2 separate regions of the Homo sapiens genome follow, and region 1 is linked to region 2. Evidence: promoter capture Hi-C in human tissues and cell types (Jung and others, 2019). All regions are on one chromosome and are shown on one strand. Each heading gives the region's core, a stretch centred on a gene start or on the middle of the fragment in contact. The rest is flanking DNA. Distances are from core to core; before and after follow the strand shown.

The links. The method cuts DNA at HindIII sites, captures the fragments that hold promoters and counts their contacts. A contact is called where the count stands out against the background at its distance.
Region 1: a contact is called between a fragment that was not itself captured here and the fragment with the promoter of SRSF12 in region 2, in 2 of the 25 tissues and cell types used here (aorta and liver).

Annotation. Positions count from the first base shown.
Region 1 is chr6:89,009,341-89,012,040 of GRCh38, forward strand. No RefSeq gene overlaps it. Among named protein-coding and RNA genes, the nearest start is that of RNGTT, 47 kb to the left of the region's middle. The HindIII fragment of the contact is 3,357 bases long and covers 1-2,700 here.
Region 2 is chr6:89,116,712-89,119,411 of GRCh38, forward strand. It overlaps SRSF12 (serine and arginine rich splicing factor 12), which reads right to left and starts at 1,360. Exons shown (of 5, transcript NM_080743.5): 1 at 1,112-1,360. The coding sequence starts at 1,176. It also overlaps a transcript of PM20D2 not described here. RefSeq lists a silencer at 944-1,213. The HindIII fragment of the contact is 14,948 bases long and covers 1-2,700 here.

The sequences.
Region 1 (2,700 bases), core at 18-2,517, 110 kb before region 2:
CTTTTATTTTTCCCCTGAAATATCATTATCTTGATCAGAAAAGAAAGTGAGGAATGCAACCACACCAACATGGACTTTGTCACAAGATAATGCCTGCCTGCCTCTCAGGCTCATTCAGATTCCAAAGAGAATCATCTATAAGTTAATTTCTATCTCCCTCATCCATTTATTCTAATGATCACTGCCTGCACCTCAAAAGAATTGTCTACATCCGCCACCTTTTTCCTCACCTATGAAAAATGTGATACAAGCTTCTGTACCCTGTTGGGATATGGGGTAATGACGATACAGGAGTTAAGAAGAAATCACTTAGGCAGATAGTAAGGATATGGGAGTCTTCAGTAAAGCTTTTCTTTTCAATGAAAAGCAGCCCCAAATCATTTTCTAACAAAGAGCAGCCTGTAAGGTTGAGCTGGGAGCTTGCACAGGTGAATACTGGCAGGAACTAGGAACCAGACATGTTCAAGATGGCAACTCCATCTTCCCTTCTCTTTCTCGGCCACATGTACTGTAAGGAGCAGATAAGATGGTGCCGGTCAACTGGAAAGCCCATTTGCGTAATAAGATTAGGATGGGGCAACCAGCCTTCCCTATGCAATATGTAAACGTCATACCTGATGGAACCAATCTGTGAGTCCTATGTAAATCAGACACCACTTCCTCAAACTGGACTATAAAATCTGGCACATTCACCATCAGCTGGTCCTTTGCACTAGGAGACCCCTTTCTCTATAGAGAGAGCTGTATCTCTTTCTCTTCTCTTCTGCCTTTTAAACGTCTGCTCCTAAACTCCTCGGGTGTGTCCGTGTCCTAAATTTTCCTGGCTCGCAACATCGAAACCCAGGGTATATACCCCAGACAATGTAGCAGCTTCAGTGACACTCTGGTTCCCACACACATGCACACACACACATTAATAAATCTGCCTTTTCTCCTATTAATCTGCCTTTTGTCTGTTGATTTTCAGCAAACTTTCAAAGAGCAAAGGGGAAGTTTCCCTTTTGCCCATACAGTTTTGGTACTGTGAGCAGGATACTTCTCTGCTCTTTTGGAAACTGCAGTCAAGGGAACCCAAGACCTAACAAGTCTGAAAAAAAGAGATTCTATCATAATAAGAAGGCTCCTCTGCTCTAACCCTTAACAAAAAGTAACCCTCCAGCTTGGGCAACACGGCAAAACCCCATCTCTACAAAATACACAAACATTACCCAGGCATGATGGTATGCACGTATAGTCCCAGCTACTGCAGGGGCTGAGGTGGGAGGATTGCTTGAGCCCAGGAGGTGGAGGTTGCAGTTAGCTGAGATCATGCCACTGCACTCCAGCCTGGGCAACATAGAAAGACCCTGTCTTAAAGAGAGATTTGAGCCCAAAGTCCATTTACAATGGTGAGAGCATAATGTCAATGCCTAAAGTTTTTGTCAATCTCTCAAAAATTAAGAAATTAGCCTAAAGGGGGAGAATTGTTAAATTTTTAAATTGTTAAAAGTTTTGCCTAAAGCTGCCTTCTTATGTATTTTGAGTATAGCCTAAAGGTTGCTCCATAGAGAGTGAACTGTAACCTAACTGGATATGTAAACAGATTGTAACCTACTCTTTTAACAAGTAGCCTAGTCTCAGCCAATCACAGGCAACTAACTGTTGTTCAAAGTGTGTTCAAATTAAGTCACATGTCAAGCTGTAACCAATCCAGCTATTTCCGTACCTCACTTCTGTTTTCTATATGTCACTTTCCTTTTTCTGTCCATAAATGTTATTTGACCATGTGGCTGCCCCAGTGTTGTTGTTACTCTGAACCTATTCTGGTTCTGGCGGCTGCCAGATTCATGAAACATTGTCTGTGTAATTAAACTCTGTTAAGTTTAATTTGTCTAAAGTTTTTCTTTTAACAACTTGTACCATCTATATTTCTCATTGCTGCCAGACTATCCAGGATGTTAAGATCATGATATTACAACATTTAGACATAGTTAATCAGATGTGTGTCTCTCCCAATATACAGCTAACCACCATAGACTGATGCAGCCCTCCTTATTTATGACAGCTCCTTTGTTACTCAAATTTGGCCAATCTCTGAAGTCTTGGATGCACACTGACTTTCAACAACCCCCCTCCATGGGACATAACACTTTAGAAACAGATGCTTCCAGCTCTGAGGGAAACAGATAATAACTCTGTGGCTGACCACCAATCATTGATCAGTGATGCTTCCTCATCCCCTATCTGGATCAATAGGGCAGAAATGTGAAATGTGATATACAAAATGGCATCACTCTGGTTCAGAGCTATAAAATGGCATCAGGAAGCCATTTTAAGAAGGACTTCCTGCATAACCTGCAACCCAGCAAAAAAAAAAAAAAAAAAAGGCAGAAACTTGCTTCGAACCTTTGAATTGGCCCAAATTGTAATGATCATGAATGTAAATATCCTGGAAAACAGCTTAACTTCACCAGCGCAGCAACTCCTGAACAGCAACAACCAATGAACTATAGACACACATACTAAGCCAGCCACCTCCACCAGTGAGAATTCTTTCAAAATAACTTGGGTAATCATCCTCAGCTTCCTTTAAAAAACCGTACTCCCTTCCCTCTCTTCAGAACAGTTTGGCTTGGAGCTGAATCTGTGTCTCCCGAATTGCAATTCTGAAGACCCCAACAAATGCCTGGCTTTACTGCTTTGCAGTCTGGTCTTTCACCT
Region 2 (2,700 bases), core at 110-2,609:
TTGCAGCCAACCAAGATCGGGCCATTGTACTCCAGCCTGGGGGACAAGAGCGAGACTTTGTCTAAAAAAAAAAAAAAAACTAAAAAATAAAAAATACTTAACGTTTATTTACTCCTCAAAGGTAAATTATAATACTCATCTCAGATGACTATGGAGTCAAGAGCTCCATGTATCTATACCTCTCTGGCCCCAGGTAAATCATTAAAACTCTTAGTTTCCGCTCTCCCTTATGTACAATAAAACAGTACTGCATAGGTAGAAAGGCTGGGGGGAAGTAAATGAAGCCCAGTGAAATGAGAATGTCTATTAACACCGTTCCCTCTCCCCCCGCCCCCAATTTCTTCAGCTCCATTAAGGAAGGAAGTGCTATATGAAAAAGTCATTCCTTAGTATCTGTGTTCAGACACTCTGTAGACAAAATTCTCAACGGAGGGGTGGGGCATCAGAATCAACCAGGTGAGCCTATACTCACGCCCTTAAAAAGGGTGTTAATACTGGACTCAGAACTTTAAAGAAAAACGCACTGATCTCATTCATTGAAGTTATTTTTTGTATGCAGAATAAAATTGTGTGAATAAAATGCAAGCAGCACCGTCTGTAAGTAGACCAGAACTGGGGGAAAGAAACTGTAAGGCCCGAGTACGCATTATGGTACAAAACGTTCTCACCAGCCCCAATTCCTCTCCATCTAGGAGGGTTGGATGCGCGCGATTTTATCGGGGCACGGCGACAAAGGAGCTGAAACGCGGGCACTCGCTGGAGCGCAAACCCTCCCGACTCCCGGCGGGGAGCGACCTGAGCTCGGGAGAGGGGCGCCCCGTGTCCCACGGCCCGCCGGCTGCGGTGCTGAACCGCGGAAAGCGACGCGGGCCCGGGACACGATGTGCGCGGCGCCGGGGCTGAAAGCTGGCCGGGAGGGCGGAGGCGCGAGTTCCGCCCTGGGCCGCGGAGTAGTCCGAGGGCTCACACCTCCCCAAGTGGCGCAGCCTGGGCCCGCGGGGAGGCTCCGCGCAGCTCCCCCGAGCCTCCGCCGGGCCTCGGCCGTGCTCCGCGGCGCGGCTGTTACCCCGCCCCTCCTCCGCGCCCCCAACCTGCAGCCGCGGCCGTTCACCTGGTGGCGTCCGCGACGTTCCTGATGAACAGGGAGGTGTTGGGGGGCCTCGTGTAGCGAGACATGACCGCTTCCTCCGTTCCCTCCGGGTCTGCCCGCGGCCGCTGGACTCGCTCCGTCTCCCGCTACCGCTGCTACCACCACAGGAGCTCCGCCGGCCCCCGGCGCGACCCCCACCCCTCGGCCTCAGCCCCGCCAGCGCGCAGCCGCAGAGGCCGGCGCAGAGGGGGCGCAGCGCGGCGCCAGCCTGGACGCACGGGCCGGGGGCGGGGGCGGCGCCGGCGCGGCCCAGGGGCCGCGGGAATTCCGAAGACAGGAGCGCGGCCGTTCCCAGGCCCTATGGGATCCGGGTATGGGGGGTCCTGGAGTGCGACGGGATTTGGGGAGGGGGCGGCGAGGGCCAGTGTATGTCAGGAGGGCGGAGGCCAAGAGGGGGCTTGAGGCCGCGGCGGGGACGCCGGGGGTTAGAGGACCCAGAGGTGGTGGCGGGGCTGCGGCTGGGCGGAGGTGGGGTCAGTGAGAGCCGCTTTCAACCGCGCCCCCGCTCAGCCTCCGCGGCCCTCAGCGCATCGTCCTGAGCGCAGGACCTTGGCAGTTGGTAGGCCTCCTGCCCCTCTGGTCTTGAGCCTTCGGCTTTCCAACTGTGAGGTCTCGGTTTTGTTCGGATTTGTTTTTTTAATAGAGACGGGGTCTCGCTGTGTTGCCCAGGTGGTCTCAAACTCCTGGGCTCAAGCCTCTCCCGCCTCGGCCTTCCAAAGTGCTGGGATTACAGGTGTGAGCCACCGCGCCTGGCCTGTTGGATTTTTAAGTATTATATGATTCTTCATCCTTTATTCACTTGGGGCATAACACTCAGCTGTGAGTACATTCATTCAGATGTTTATTGAGCGTCTACTATGCGCCAGGCACTTAGCGTGGGATATAGCAATGAACAAACAGGCCAAGCCCCGCCCTCTGAGCTTACATTCTAGAGGGGGGACAAACGAATGTACAAATGAATACATGATGTAGAAGACAACAGTTTAAATGCAGGGACAGTTAAGCAAAATTTAAATTACCCTCTCCCTATTCCCCCAAAATGTTGTAGCCCATCCCCTTCTAGTTAGACTCGTCTTCGCCTTGCTCCTGTGGCCGGCAGGCACAGCCTGTTATTCAGGGCTGGGAGTGTAACCAGGCAACTCCTAAGTGTGAAGAGTGCCCCTTTTCGCTCGCAGAAGTGGTAGGCTTTGAAGAATACATGTCGTGGTCACCCTTCTAGCTCACAGCCCTCCCAGAGGCTGTGGAGGTTCCTGGGTCTGCAGCTGTACTGGAACGGTGGCTATTCTTTCATTCAGAAGGGATTGCTCTGGCACTGCAGGCACAGGGCTAGACTGGCACCGTGCCTATTCCCCTAGAGCTTAGAATTTGGTAGGGAGGCAGAATCTAACAATCACACTGGTAAAGATACAAACTATAATACAGGGCTATGAAAAGAACTATATGCTGCTGAGAGCAGGCATTGTGGGATGGTGAGCAAGGCTAGAGGGTCACTTATGTTCCCTGAACAAGTCTTGAAGAGATGGGTAAAGAATGGAGAAGAGTAATTAGTG